3 separate regions of the Homo sapiens genome follow, and all the other regions are linked to region 1. Evidence: promoter capture Hi-C in human tissues and cell types (Jung and others, 2019). All regions are on one chromosome and are shown on one strand. Each heading gives the region's core, a stretch centred on a gene start or on the middle of the fragment in contact. The rest is flanking DNA. Distances are from core to core; before and after follow the strand shown. Region 1 holds the start of NARF (nuclear prelamin A recognition factor). Region 2 holds the start of CD7 (CD7 molecule). Region 3 holds the start of RAB40B (RAB40B, member RAS oncogene family).

The links. Contacts are between HindIII fragments. The study calls those that stand out against the background at their distance.
Region 2: a contact is called between the fragment with the promoter of CD7 here and the fragment with the promoter of NARF in region 1, in 1 of the 25 tissues and cell types used here (neural progenitor cells).
Region 3: the fragment with the promoter of RAB40B here is called in contact with the fragment with the promoter of NARF in region 1 in 1 of the 25 tissues and cell types used here (dorsolateral prefrontal cortex).

The regions. Positions count from the first base shown.
Region 1 is chr17:82,457,436-82,461,991 of GRCh38, forward strand. NARF (nuclear prelamin A recognition factor) reads left to right here and starts at 1,306. Exons shown (of 11, transcript NM_012336.4): 1 at 1,306-1,395; 2 at 2,557-2,637. The coding sequence starts at 1,369. NARF-AS2 (NARF antisense RNA 2) reads right to left here and starts at 1,084. Exons shown (of 3, transcript NR_184099.1): 1 at 238-1,084; 2 at 3-113. RefSeq lists enhancers at 645-794, 1,228-2,060 and a silencer at 825-1,644. The HindIII fragment of the contact is 15,922 bases long and covers 1-4,556 here.
Region 2 is chr17:82,315,802-82,320,868 of GRCh38, forward strand. CD7 (CD7 molecule) reads right to left here and starts at 1,807. Exons shown (of 4, transcript NM_006137.7): 1 at 1,613-1,807; 2 at 866-1,180; 3 at 394-608. The coding sequence starts at 1,694. The HindIII fragment of the contact is 15,699 bases long and covers 1-3,296 here.
Region 3 is chr17:82,695,286-82,700,094 of GRCh38, forward strand. It overlaps RAB40B (RAB40B, member RAS oncogene family), which reads right to left and starts at 3,413. Exons shown (of 6, transcript NM_006822.3): 1 at 3,170-3,413. The coding sequence starts at 3,311. RefSeq lists silencers at 3,142-3,571, 3,592-3,981. The HindIII fragment of the contact is 28,650 bases long and covers 1-4,809 here.

The DNA.
Region 1 (4,556 bases), core at 56-2,555:
ACACAAACACAATGAAGCTTCAGGCCCCTTCACGAGGGTCATGTCATCTCACCAGAACCACTCCATGGTCAGTGTCTCTTATCAGTAAGGAATACTGGTCAATTGGGCCGAAACTGCAAATGAGAGAGTTGTTATCAGCGGTGGAGTCTTTCGAAAGCGCTGGTTTCCGTTAAGCTCTTAGCCAAGAAAACCTAATGGTAGTTAGCCAAGGGTTGGCCTTAATAACAGGTGTCTCACCTCCCATCTGTCATGGCTGAGAACTGCCTTCAAGGCAACCCTGGGATCTCCTTAGCCAGTAGGGGGTTCGTGTAGTCAGTTGGGGGTCTTTGGATTTCATTTTCATTTCTCAGAGGACAGGAAGGAAGGCTCTAACATGGGGAATCCTGAGAACTGCTGCTGTCTGTTAAATACGCCTACAAGTTATTTTTCTTATGTCACACTCTCCCAGACATGTTCTTACTTCTCATTTCTGATTTCTGTAATACACACACACTGATTTCATAAAACGTTTATGAGTCCAACACTTCCATTATAGCCCTGTATCAATGTTTTGCTTAGCTGAAATCAATTTCTTGGAGGAGTAAGTGTTATCTTTACTTTGTAAGCTGTAAGGGCCCAAATCAATGTACTTGGTAAAACTATCCATAGTGAACACACGCAAATGTCAAATGGCCATCATTTAGCATCTGCCCTCGGGCTTCCGGGTCCATCACGTGGTTACTGACAGGCAGGCCGCGCATGCGCGCTGCTACTCCGCCGAGCCTACGTGACACGACGTCAAGTGGCAATGGCGGCGGACGAGGGCTGTGCCCCCGGCCCGCCCCGTTAGGAGCCGCGAGTAAGGCGAGTGTCCAACGCCGAGCTGGCTGACAGAGCCCGGCCGCGGCCTCCGCGGGCCCAGGGGCCTCCAGGCCCCGTGACCACCGGACCGAGCACCCTGGAACGGCCCCAGCTTGGCCTCGGGACAGTCCGCGCGCTCACCGACTCCCTGGTGAACGCCGCTTGGCCGCCGCCGCCGCCGCAGGACCCACGAGAAGCGGAAACCGGCGCAAGGACCCGGTCCCCCCGGCGCCGTACGTGGAGTGAGCCTGCGGTCCGCCCCGCGCGCTCCGATTGGCTCTGGGGCCTGGCCCGCCCCTTCCCGACACTGTCATTGGCCTAGGCAAAGCCGTAAGGGTGGGGAATCCTATTGGCCCAGGGGTGCGGCTTGTCCTCTCCCGGTGCTCTCATTGGCCGAGCGCGGCCGTTGGGGGTGAGGCCGCGTCGGGGGAGGACAACAAAGGGCCGCGGGCGGCGGGCAGTGGTGTCCCAGTCTCCCGGTGCTTCCCTGAGGCTGAGGCGCCCGGCCTCCCGCCCGCCGCGCTCCAGATGAAGTGTGAGCACTGCACGCGCAAGGTGAGCGCCGCGGGCCGGGGAGGCGCGCGCCTGGTGCTTGTCCTGTGGGGCTCTGGGCGGCCGAGGTTGGCGGTCCGGGCCCGCCGCTCGCTCGCTTCAGGGCTCTTCAAGGCGCCCCCGGCCTCGGCACCCTGGGCCCGCTCGGCGTGGAGGCGGCCGGCGCGGGGTCCGCTGCGCTCTGCAGGGCGGGTTCGGTCTTCGCGGTTCTCCCTGAACTTGTCCATCTTTCCCACGCCCGCGAAGCGCGGAAACGCACGGAGACCGAGCCTCTCGTGCCGCGCACCACAGTCCGAGTAAACAGCGGTCGTGGCGGGAATGATCAGAAGCGTTTCGAGAGGGTTTTAGGCGTTTTCGAACCTGCCCCTCTGAGGGTCACCGAGCAGCCGGTGCAGGGGCGGAAGCGGGTGACGGCTGCTGACCGGCGCCTTCCGCGGTTGTCTCCAGGCCATGGCAACAACCGCGCAGCGCACGCAGGGGGGTTTTGTAGCTGTTATTGCCGGAATGGGCTCCTGTGGATGCTGCTCTGTGGCTGGCACTTCTGCGCGTGACGCCGTGGCAGGAGGCTTCCTAACATTCCATGGGTCGTTCATCCCCGGTGGTGGCTGCGTCCTATTCTAAGTACACCTGTGTCCAGGGGAATTCGCCTGTGGGGTGAAGGCTACAGTTGCTTCTGCTTTTTTATTATTGTAAACAATAGAGATGTGTGTGTGTCCTTCAGTACCTGTTTCACTAGAAGGGTTAGAAGGATAGAAGGCCAGGCACGGTGGCTCAAGCCTGTTATCCCAGCACCTTGGGAGGGGAGGCCGAGGCGGGTGGATCACCTGAGGTCAGCAGTTCAAGACCATCGTGGCCAACATGGCGAAACCCAGTCTCTACTAAAAATATAAAATTAGCTGGGTGTGGTGGCGCACACCTGTAATCCCAGCTACTCAGAAGGCCGAGGCAGGAGAATCGCTTGAACCCGGGAGGTGGAGGCTGCAGTGAGCCGAGATTGCGCCCCTGCACTCCAGCCTGGGTGAGAGCGAGACTCCGTCTAAAAAAATAAATAAATAAACTAAAAGAAAGGATAGAAATACATGAGCTTCATTGGTCAGAATGTGCACATTTTCTTAAGGGAGACGAAGTAAAAGTTCATTGATAATGTTCCTTTGCTTTTTTAAGGAATGTAGTAAGAAAACAAAAACTGATGACCAAGAGAATGTGTCAGCCGATGCACCGAGTCCAGCCCAGGAAAATGGAGAGGCAAGTAGATTTTTCAGTTTTGTATCAGCCCAGAGTAAACTACTGCTGCTGTTTTTCTCTTTGGGGGCTCACAGCACCGTGCACATCACTGCTTTAAAGAAGACTGAAGTACGCGGGCATGGTGGCTCACGCCTGGAATCCCAGCACTTTGGGAGGCCGAGGTGGACGGATCACTTGAGGTCAGGAGTTTGAGACCAGCCTGGCCAACATGGTGAAACCTTATCTCTGCTAAAAATACAAAAATTATCCAGGTATGGTGGTGTACGCCTGTAATCCCAGCTACTCAGGAGGCTGAGGCAGGAGAATTGCTTGACCCTGGAAGACAGAGGTTGCAGTGAGCTGAGATTGTACCACTGTACTTCAGCCTGGGCAACAGAGTGAGACTCTGTCCCAAAAAAAAGACTGAAATAGGCCAGGCGTGGTGGCTCATGCCTGTAATCCCAGAACTTTGGGAGGCCGAGGCAGGCGGATCATGAGATCAGGAGATTGAGACTATCCTGGCTAACACAGTGAAACCTCATCTCTACTAAAAATGCAAAAAATTAGCCGGGCGTGGTGGGGGGCGCCTGTAGTCCCAGCTACTCGGGAGGCTGAGCCAGGAGAAAGGCGTGAACCTGGGAGGCGGAACTTGCAGTGAGGCAAGATCGCGCCACTGCACTCCAGCCTGGGCAACAGAGTAAGACTCCGTCTCCGAGACTGAAATAAACTTGAAGGGGCTAATAAAGACATGTGTGAGACAGTCCATCAGTGGCACAAGGCCTGTCTTCTCAGAACACACTACACCAAAACACACTGCATTGGGAACAAAGAAAACGTGGTGTAATACTGGATTTCTTCTTTTAATTTTTTTTTTCCCCTTTTGAGACAGGGTCTCACTGTCACCCAGGCTGGAGTGCAGTGGCTCACTGTATGGCTCACCGCAGCCTTGACCTCTGAGGCTCAAGTGATTCTCCTGCCTCAGCCTCCCTAGTAGCTGGGACTACAGGTATGCACCACCATGCTCAGCTAATTTATTTTTATTTTTATTTTTTGGTAGAAATGGAGTTCCACTATGTTGCCCAGATTGGTCTTGACCTCCTGGGCTCAAGTGATCCTCCTGCCTCAGCCTCCCAAAGTGCTGGGATTACAGGCGTGAGCCACTGCACCTGGCCTCTCTTCTAATTCAGTTCTTGTTTTTAAATTCTCCTTAGCTAGTAGCTATGGTCTCTGTTTATTGGATACATAACCTGAGCCTGGCTCTCAAGAATGTGATTTTACAGCCAGGCATGGTGGCTCACACCTGTAATCCCAACACTTTGGGAGGCCGAGGTGGGTGGATTACCTGAGGTCAGGAGTTCAAGATCAGCCTGACCAACATAGATAAACCCCATCTCTACTAAAAATACAAAATTAGCTGGGCGTGGTGGTGCATGCCTGTAATCCCAGCTACTCAGGAGCCTGAGGCAGGAGAATTGCTTGAACCCGGGAGGCGGAGGTTGAGGTGAGCCGAGATCACGCCACTGCACTCCAGCTGGGGCGACAGAGTGAGACTCCGTCTCAAAAAAAAGAATGTCATTTTACATGCAGTCTCATTTCACGCCCAGAAGGAACATTACATGTAAGCCTGGCCATTATCCCTGTTTTACTGAGTGAAGGGTGTTGGGAGAGGTTAAGGTCAGTCTACCCTTAGAAAGTACTAGTACCAGTTTATAAATGGAGAGTTGGCAATATGGCAGAAGCATATTTTTTCCTTAAGTTTAGTAGTCCTGACATGTTTAATCTGACAGGTGTTCTCCCGGTTGCCCTGTGTGCCAGTGCTGTGGGGACTGTGGGGCTTAGGGAGCAACAGGGCCTGAGACAAGCAGCCAAAGAGCTGGCCACAGGCAGAAGAGAGGTAGGGTGCATTGGAGCCCTGGAGGCAGCTGGGGCCAGTGCGCCTG
Region 2 (5,067 bases), core at 557-3,056, 140 kb before region 1:
ACATGCACGCACAGTCCTCAGAGATCCCCACACACAGGCTCACACCTGCACACGTGCACACGCGGGCCCAGCGCCTGGGCGCTCCCTCCTCTGCCCGCACACTCCAACCTGCACGCACAGACCTCAGAGATCCCCCCTCAGACACTCACACCTGCACACGCGCACACGCGCACACGCGGGCCCAGCGCCTGGGCTGCTCCCTCCCCCTCAGGTCGCTTTGGTGCTGGTCCCCCTCCCTCCCCGCCGAGGCCACTTCCACCCTGAGAGTTCCAGAGCCTGCAGAGGAGGCGGCGGGTACCAGGGTTTTCCTCTGGGGCTTTGGCGCCCCCCACGCTGCTCTCAGGAGAGGGAACAATCTTTGGGGTGCAGGTGGCAGCTGGGGCTCACACTGACCTGTGTCCTCGCCAGCACACACGCCACCCCCAGGCCCAGCCCGAGGAGGAAGGAGATCACCGCCAGGGCCGCAGGGAGGGCAGAGGCTGCTGGCGGGTCAGGGAGGGCAGAGGCTGTCTGCGGGTCAGGGAGGGCGGAGCCTGTCGGTGGGGCAGGGAGGGCAGAGGCCCTTGGTGGGGCGTCCGAGCATCTGTGCCATCCTTGGGACTGTTCCTCTGAGAAGGAAAAAAGAAGGAAGGGATTCTCCCGGTGGAGAACCTGTTAGAGCCCCCGGGGTTTGGGATTCGGGGCAGGGAAAGGCTGTGGAGGGGAGGAGGGGCAGCTATCTAGGAGGCTGCTGGGGGCAGTGGGCTGGGAGCTGGAACAGTTCAGGCACATGTAGGAGGGAGGGTCCCACGACAAGGGCTGGGGGAGCAGAGCCTGGCCAGCAGCTGGGGTTGGGAGGGGGGTCTGGGATGGGCACATTCCCTACCTGTCACCAGGACCAGGGTGCCGGAGCCGTAGACATTGACCTCCGTGATGGCCTGGCAGGTGTAGGTGCCAGTGTCCGACAGCTGCAGGCGGTGCATGGTGATAGTCAGGTTGTCCTGGGACCCTGAGAAGTCGATGCGGCCCCGGAACCGTCTGTCCGTAGTGGGCACCACCCCGTCCTCGTAGTAAATGATGTCTTGGGGCTGTGGCCCGAGCTGCCTCAGGTAGATCCCACGCAGGCCCCCGCTGGTGGAGCAGGTGATGTTGACGGAGGCTCCCACGGGGACAGTCGTGCAGTGGGGAGACTGCTGCACCTCTGGGGAGGACCTGGGCTGTCACCATCAGTCTGGCCAGAAGGACAGAGAATGTCCTCCCTGCAGGGGACAGTGGTGGGGATGGTGGGGCCCTGAGACAGCCCAGGGCTGACATGTCGCCAAAGACACGGTGCCTTACGGGGCATGGAGCAGATCTGGGCACCGGCTGTGGTGTTGGGGGAGGTGCTGTCCTCGTGTTCCGAGACTGTGGGCTTCTTCCTCCCAAAGCAGCGGCCCTGCCTGGACAGCCCCGGCCACTCCCCACCGGGGTCCACCCTTTTTCCTTCTCTTAAATGAGTCCTCAGACACTGGAGGCCGCTCAGCACCCCACCCGCTTCCTGGGGGCTGTGCTGTGGCTCAGACTGGGGGCTCTGAGCTCATGGGGCAGGGAGAGCTCTGGAGCTGTGGCCATGGAGAGCCTGGGAAGCTCTTACCTTGGGCAGCCAGGGCCCCAGGCAGGCCGCGAGCCAGCGCCAGAAGCAGGGGCAGCAGCAGGAGCCTCGGAGGCCCGGCCATGTTCCCCACACCCAGCTCTCCCAGCCGGGCGAGTGCAGCTGAGCCTCTCTGGGTCTACAGGACCCCACAGAGAGCAGCACACAGGAGACCGCAGGCGCTCAGAGCTCAGAGAGGGCTTCCTGGAGGCGGTGCCTCAGACCAGGGTGGTGCTGTGGGCCCGGTGGGAGGGGCGGTCTCACCTACCCCTCCCCAGCACTGCCTCCCTGAGAGCTGCCCTGAGAGCAGGGCGTCCCTGTATCCCCCACTGCCCCTGCATCTCCACAGGGAGGAGGTCAAGGCCTGGGGCGGGGCAGACCAGAGGACAGAGAAGGGACTCCCTGGCTGGGGACGGGTGGCAGGGTCTGGAAGTGAGCGGCAGAGCTGGCCCCCAGCCTGCCTGGTCCTCTGGGGTACTTTCTGCTGGGACCCAATTTATGCCCAGAAATCTGGAGCCACCCATGACCCATGAGTCACCCACACAGTGCAGAGGAGCACAGGGCAGGCCAGAATTGGCACCCCCTGGTTTGGCCGTGGGGAAGGAGCCTGGGCCTGCACCCGCACCCAACGCTGCAGCCGACCAGCTGACCGTGGCTCTGCGTTCCATGTCCTGGAGGCGGGAGGTCTGAGGTATGGTCCAGGCCTGAGGTTTCCCGACCTCCCTGGGAGGAGTGCGTCAGGCCGCAGTGCCCAGCTTCAGGGGCTGAGGGAGACCTGTGCCTGGGCTCTGACCCCAGGGTGACTGAGTCCTCTGGGAGGGGGCACTTCTCTGTCCTGAGGGCCTCCCGCCACAATGACGAAGCGTTGACGTTGGTGCCCAAAGCCAGTAGGTGCAGCACATGAGCAGGAGTGTGTGGACACGTGTGTGTGCAGAGACGGGTGCGTATGGACATGTGTGTGCAGAGACGGGTGCGTGTGGACACGTGTGTGTGCAGAGACGGGTGCGTGTGGACACGTGTGTGTGCAGAGACGGATGCGTGTGGACACGTGCGTGTGCAGAGGCGGGTGCGTGTGGACGTGTGTGTGCAGAGACGTGTGCGTGTGGACGTGCGTGTACAGAGACGGCTGTGTGTGGACACTTGTGTGTGCAGAGACGGGTGCGTGTGACTCCATGCGTGTGTGCAGAGACGGGTGCGTGTGGACACGTGTGTGCAGAGACGGGTGTGTGTGGACACGCATGTGCAGAGATGGGTGCGTGTGGACACGTGCGTGTGCAGAGACGTGTGCGTGTGGATGTGCGTGTGCAGAGACGGGTGTGTGTGGACACGTGTGTGCAGAGACGGGTGCACTTGACTCCATGCGTGTGTGCAGAGACGGGTGCGTGTGGACACGCGTGTGTGCAGAGACGGGTGTGTGTGGACACGCATGTGCAGAGACGGGTGCGTGTGAACACGTGTGTGTGCAGATGGGTGCGCATGACTCCACGCGTGTGTGCAGAGACGGATGTGTGTGGACACGCGTGTGTGCAGAGACGGGTGTGTGTGGACACGCATGTGCAGAGACGGGTGTGTGTGGACACTTTGTGCAGAGACGGGTGCGCGTGACTCCATGCGTGTGTGCAGAGACGGGTGCGTGTGGACACGCGGGTGTGCAGAGACGGGTGCGTGTGGACACGTGCGTGTGTAGAGACGTGTGCGTGTGGACGTGCGTGTGCAGAGACGGGTGTGTGGACACTTGTGTGTGCAGAGACGGGTGCGCGTGACTCCATGCATGTGTGCAGAGACGGGTGCATGTGGACACGCGTGTGTGCAGAGATGGATGTGTGTGGACACGCATGTGCAGAGACGGGTGCGTGTGGACACGTGTGTGTGCAGAGATGGGTGCGCATGACTCCACGCGTGTGTGCAGAGACGGGTGCGCGTGATTCCACGCATGTGTGTGCAGAGACGGGTGCGTGTGGACACGCGTGTGTGCAGAGACGGGTGCGCATGGCTCCACGCATGTGCAGAGACGGGTGTGCGTGACTCCACACGTGTTTGCAGAGACGGGTGCATGTGAACACGTGTGTGTGCAGAGACGGGTGTGCGTGACTCGCGTGTGTGCAGAGACGGGTGCGCGTGACTCCACACATGTATGCAGAGACGGGTGTGCATGACCACGCGTGTGTACAGAGATAGGAGCGTGTGGACATGTGTGTGTGCAGAGAGGGGTGCGTGTGGACACGTGTGTGTGCAGAGACGGGAGCGCGTGGACATGCGTGTGCAGAGACGGGAATGTGTGGACACTCGTGTGCAGACAGGTGTGTGTGGACACGCGTGTGTGAGGAGACGGGTGCGCGTGACTCCACGCATGTGTGCAGAGGGGTGCGTGTGGACACACGTGTGTGCAGAGACGGGTGCGCGTCACTCCATGCGTGTGTGCAGAGACGGGTGCGCGACTCCATGCGTGTGTGCAGAAACGGGTGCATGTGGACACGTGTGTGTGCAGAGAAGGGTGCACGTGACTCACGCGTGTGTGCAGAGATGTGTGCCCGTGACTCACACACGGACCTGCAGCCCTGAGCTCCTTCCCCAGAAGTCCCAGCCACAGCAGCCGGTGCGGAGACACGGGTGGGGCTGTGGGGTGGTGCAGGTTTTCTGCTGGGCCGAGGGTCCTGGGGGAGCCGGTTTTCCTCCCCCAGGCTCTCCATAAACGAGAGACAGAGGGTTTGGGGGCAGAATCTTGCGCAGAGACCCTGGAGCACCCTAGCAAGGCTGTGGCTCGAGGCGGTGGGTAACAGCACTTGCCGGAGCAGCCCCTCCTCTGGCCTTTGCTCCATGCATGCATTGGGTCACCAACGTTCACCGGGCGTCTTTATGCCAGCGTCTGTGCCAGGAGCAGGGGGCAGTGTGGACCAGGAGCCCTCCCGCCTGGAGCTGACCTCAGGGAGGCCAGGTGGACAGCCAGCAGGACACAGGGTGTGGGTGTGGCCCTCAAAGGCCAACCCAGGAACGGGCCGTGGGTGAAACCAACTGGGGCCCCGGGGAACAGCATTCCACGCAGCGGGATCAGTAGGGCAGAATCCCTGAGGCCAGAGCGTGCCTGGTGTGTCTGAGGACAGCATGGGGCCGGGTGGGGTTGGGGGCTGCAGAGGGAGACACAGACTTCCACACACGGAGGGGGAAGGCAGCGTGAGGACCAGCACTAAATCCCAGTAGGGAAAACAGAAGCAGAGATAAGCCACCAGGAAAAGATGAAAATCCTCACGGACTCCAGCCCCAGGCTCTCCTCCTGGGTTTCCTGCCTGGGTGCGCAGGGGACATGGCGACCGCACTACCGATTTCAAAGTGACTTTGAGGCTGGGCTCAGGGGCTCATGCCTGTAATCCCAACACTTTGGGAGGCCAGAGTGGGAGAATCGCTTGAGCCCAGGAGGTCGAGCCGTGATCGCGACCGTGTACTCCAGCCTGGGCGGCAGA
Region 3 (4,809 bases), core at 2,163-4,662, 240 kb after region 1:
GGTTCCAGCGATTCTCCTGCCTCAGCCTCCCAAGTAGCTGGGATTACAGGCACGCGGCACCACGCCCAGCTAATTTTTGTATTTTTAGTAGAGATAGGGTTTCACCATGTTGACCAGGCTGGTCTCAAACTCCTGACCTCATGACCCGCCCACCTTGGCCTCCCCAAGTGCTGGGATTACAGCTGTGAGCCACTGCGCCCGGCTGCCCTCACCTTTCAATAACAAGCACCTATAGTGTTTCTCAGCGAAACATGTCATTAAAAAAAAAAAAAAACATGGCCAGGTGCTGTGGCTCAGGCCTATAATCTCAGCATTTGAGGAGGCCAAAAAAGGAGGATGGCTTGAACCCAGGAGGGTCAAGGCTGCAGTGATCTGCAATCACACCACTGCACTCCAGCCTGGGCGGCAGAGAAGACCCTGTCTCTGAAAAAATAAAAAACAAAACATAATGATCTCAACTTCTTACTATTTTTCAGAATATCTTTTCTTAACTCTAAAACAAATATTTGGTAAATCAAAAACCTGCAAGGGTACACCCGTGATATCAGTTTTTTCTACAGCAGCTCAGGCCAAGTAGACAATAAAGCTCTTGATGGGATTTTTTTTTTAAGACAGAATTTCGCTCTTGTTGCCCAGGCTGGAGTACAATGGTGCGATCTCTGCAACCTCCGCCTCCCGGGTTCAAGCAATTCTCCTGCCTCAGCCTCCCGAGTAGCTGGGATTACAGACATGTGACACCATGCTCGGCTAATTTTTGTATTTATAGTAGAGACAGGGTTTCTCCATGTTGATCAGGCTGGTCTCGAACCCCTGACCTCAGGTGATCCGCCCGCCTTGGCCTCCCAAAGCCGGGATTACAGGTGTGAGCCACCGCCCCCGGCCCGGTGGGAGGTGTATTTTTAGCCTAAATCCTCCCTCCGTGTCAAGGGAAAGCCTTTATTACAAAGCATTGGACCATTGTTTTGGTTCGTCCTCAGTTCGGCATGTAGCAACCAAAAGTCACGCAGCAGAAGCATCCCCGAGCCTCCATTCAAACCAACCAGAAGGAAGTTTCACAAACATTCTGTGCGTGACCCTTCTCACACACGCCCCACGGCACTCACCTTCAATCAAACTCAACACTGTCAACCGTCTGCTCCCCCAAAACACGCACAGCTCTTAAAGCGCCATATTCGTCTGGGCGTACACGTTGTTGGGTGCTTTATTCCTGTAGCTCTGGTAGGGTTCATCCCTCACTGAGCCCAGACCCCGAGGGCACAGTGCAGACAAAGCCCTGTCCTCCAGGCGCTCAATCTCCAGCCCTGTCCTCCAGGCGCTCAATCTCCAGCCCTGTCCTCCAGGCGCTCAATCTCCAGCCCTGTCCTCCAGGCGCTCAATCTCCAGCCCTGTCCTCCAGGCGCTCAATCTCCAGCCCTGTCCTCCAGGCGCTCAATCTCCAGCCCTGTCCTCCAGGCGCTCAATCTCCAGCCCTGTCCTCCAGGCGCTCAATCTCCAGCCCTGTCCTCCAGGCGCTCAATCTCCAGGGCAGCGCTGGCCCTCGGACTTTGCCACAGCGACATCCGAACTATCTAGAAATGTGACGAATGGAAGCTTTTTGTTTTCTTTCCTTCTAATTACACTTCCACAGCCACACGTGGCTCATGGCATCCTACTGGACACCACGGTCCTAGAGACCTGCCACCGAGCGGGGAGGGGGGTAGGACATGCGGGGGCAGCGGCGCCTGGGGACAGGTAGAGACGCAGGCTCCCCTCCTGCCCCACGGAGCACACTCTGCACCCACCAGCTGCCAGAGACTCCCCCGCATGCTGCAGTTTCAGGAGGCCTCTGGGTGCTGGTCGTGAGCCCAAGCCCATCTCAGCTGCTCCCCCAAACTCTGCCCATTCCTCACCCCGTCCCCTAAGCTGAGGTGTGGCCGGGCACCTGAGTCCCACCCCACGCTCCACAGTCTCAGGCCACCCCCTCCAGCCGTGCCACACTCCCTTGGTGCTCACGCCGCCTGCCTGGAGCTGCCCTTAGGGGACAGCCTGCACCCTCTACCGAGCAGCCTCAGATCCCGCTTCCTCCCACCCTCTCCCGCTAAGTTCGTCTCTGGCAGGACCCTGGACCTGGGGCTTCCCAGACCCTTCCCAGGCCCCAGAGCTGACAGGTCCTTCCCACCAAGACTCCATCTCCACGCCCGGCTGCCCTCCTCCGCCCAGGACTCAGAGCGGGTCTCTGTTGGAAGCGTGGGTTCAGCCCCGAGGCGCGGCAGGAAGGTGGGCACAGGCTGGGCTCCTTCCACAGCCTCAGGGTCGGCCTCGTCCAAGCTGTTCCAGGGATGCGCGTGGGTGAAGGCCCCGCCTGCTCCTCACTCCCAGCCGAGGTGTTCGCCTCTGCGCGTTCCCCCTTCTCCTGGGTTCCTGCCCCCGCCTTTCTTTCCCCGGAGCCGTCCACCCCCTCGCCGGGCGCCGGCTTTCAAGCCTCAAACTTGGGGGATCCCCGGGCTGCCTGCCTGGGAGCTCTGGGCGCTCCGGCCTCCCCTCGCCCTGGAACCCGCTCTCCGGCCGCTGTCGTGGGGGGTCCCCTCTTCCGCACGCGAGTCACCTGTGCTCCTTCCTCTCCCCCGGACACGCGGGACCCCTGGCCTCGGGACCGGACCCTGGTCTCCCCTCCCCTCCGACCCACGCGCAGACCCAGCACCTGGGCGCCTGCTCGCCGCGCTCCGCCCCAGGAGCCCCGGAGCTCGCGTCCCCTCCCGCCCCTCCTGCCCCGCGGCCGAACGCGCACTTGCGGACTCGAGCCCCCGCCCCGGGTCCCCACAGCAGCGGCCCCAGGTCGGGAGGAGCCCAGCGCCCGGCCCAGCCGCGGGCTCCCGCTGCGCGCAGACTGCGGAGAAGGATGGAGACTGCGCCGCGGGGCCTCGAGTGGAACTGGGGGTGCAACAGGGACGCCGCAGCACGAGGGCCAGGGCCGGGCGGAGAAAGGCCCGCCCGCGAACCGCGCTCCTCCTCAGCCCCGCGCCCCCGGACCGGGACTCCTACCCTCCCCGGCCACGCGCCCCGGCCTCTTCCCGACCCCTGCCCGGTCTCGCGTCCCCGGACCCGGACCCCCACCCGCACCCCCTCCCCAGCCCCGCGCCCCTCCCCGGCCCCGCGCCCGCACCCCGGCACGCCCTCCGCCCGCGCTCACCCGCCGGGTGGCCGTACGGGGACTCGGCCGCGCCATCCTGCAGGCTCGCCAGGATCTCGCCCTTGCCCACGTCGCTGTCGCCCACCAGCAGGAACTTGAGCAGAAAGTCGTAGGCCCGGACCGGGCTGCCCAGGGCGCTCATCGTGACGGCCCGGCGCCCCCACCCATGCCCGGCCTGCGGGGCTGAGCGCAGAGGCGGCGGCCCGGCCCCGAGAGGCGCCGCGCGGGCCCCGAGTCCTTGCTCGCCTCCGGCCCCGCCCCGCCGCCCAGCGCTGACAGCGCGCATCCCCGCCCGGCCCCGCCATTGGTGGACCGCAGTTGCTAGGGCAGCTGCGCGCTTTCACTGGCTTGGTTGTCCGTCCATCTTACTCTCGTCACCGCCTCCGGGCTGTCGCCCACCCGCCCCTCCTGAAAGGTCGCTGTCACCACAGCCAATGGAGGCCCGGAGACGGGGCAGGGGCGGAGCCAGAACAAGCAGGAGGCGGGGACTCTGCTCCCGCAGCCAATGGCGGGGCGGGGTGGGGGCGATCAGGGGGTGGGGCCGGGTGTTTACACTCTCGCGTGCGCCCGTGAGCGCCACGAACTCGCTCCCACGGTCGTCGGGTCTGCACGCCCCGAGTCGGGAGGGGCGAGGGGCGGTGCAGGGTCCCAGCGTGGGGCCTCCCCACCTGCCCACCAGGGAGACCTCGGGTGCCTGGCCGGGTGGGGCTCGGGGTCGGTCCAGTTGGCGGACGCGGCCGGAAGGCCCCCGCAGGCCGCCTCGCCGGAGGAGTCCCTGTCGCCGTAGAATCCAGGCTCGCGGTCTCTCCCCACGGTTCATCCAGGGCCTCGTCGTTGCCCCATTTACGCGGCGTGCCTGAATGCCTGTGTGTGCACATGCGCCTGTGTACGTGTGCATGTGTTCGTGTGTGTGCATGTCTGCGTGTGCATGTGTGCCTCTGCAGATATCTGCACATGTATGTGTCTGCGTGTGCATGTGTCCCTCTGCAGGTGTCTGCACATCTATGTGTCTGCGTGTGCATGTGTCCCTCTGCAGGTGTCTGCACATGTATGTGCGTGTGCATGTGTCCCTCTGCAGATGTCTGCACATCTGTGTGTCTGCGTGTGCATGTGTGCCTCTGCAGGTGTCTGCACATGTATGTGCGTGTGCATGTGTGCCTTTGCAGGCATCTTTGCATGTGTGTGTCTGCGTGTGCTGCTTCTATGCATGCGCTCCTATGTGTGCGTGCGCTTGTTTGTGCATCCATGCATGTGTTTGCGTGCGTGCTGGAGGAGAGCATTGGGTGGGACCCTCCAGCCTTTTGGCTTCTCCTCTGCTCTAGAGAGCAAGGGTTGCCAGGCCGAGGTCTGCCCTTCGCTCTGAGGGTCTCACCAGGTGCACATTGGTTTATTTGGTGCAGAATTCAGGCAGCAGGCAAAGGGCGAGCTCCGTCCAAGAAGAAGGATAATGCCCCCACTACTTCATCCCCTCCACCCTGCGTTGTGTAGGGAACTGCTCTAGACCCCATTAGAAGTTTTTTGTGGGGGAGGAACAGAAGAGGGAGCGGAAGAAGAATTACAAAAGAGACTGAAGTCAAGATTATTATATTTGTCATTTGCATTCATTTGGACCTAGAAAATGTTTACTTTGGAATGCCAAT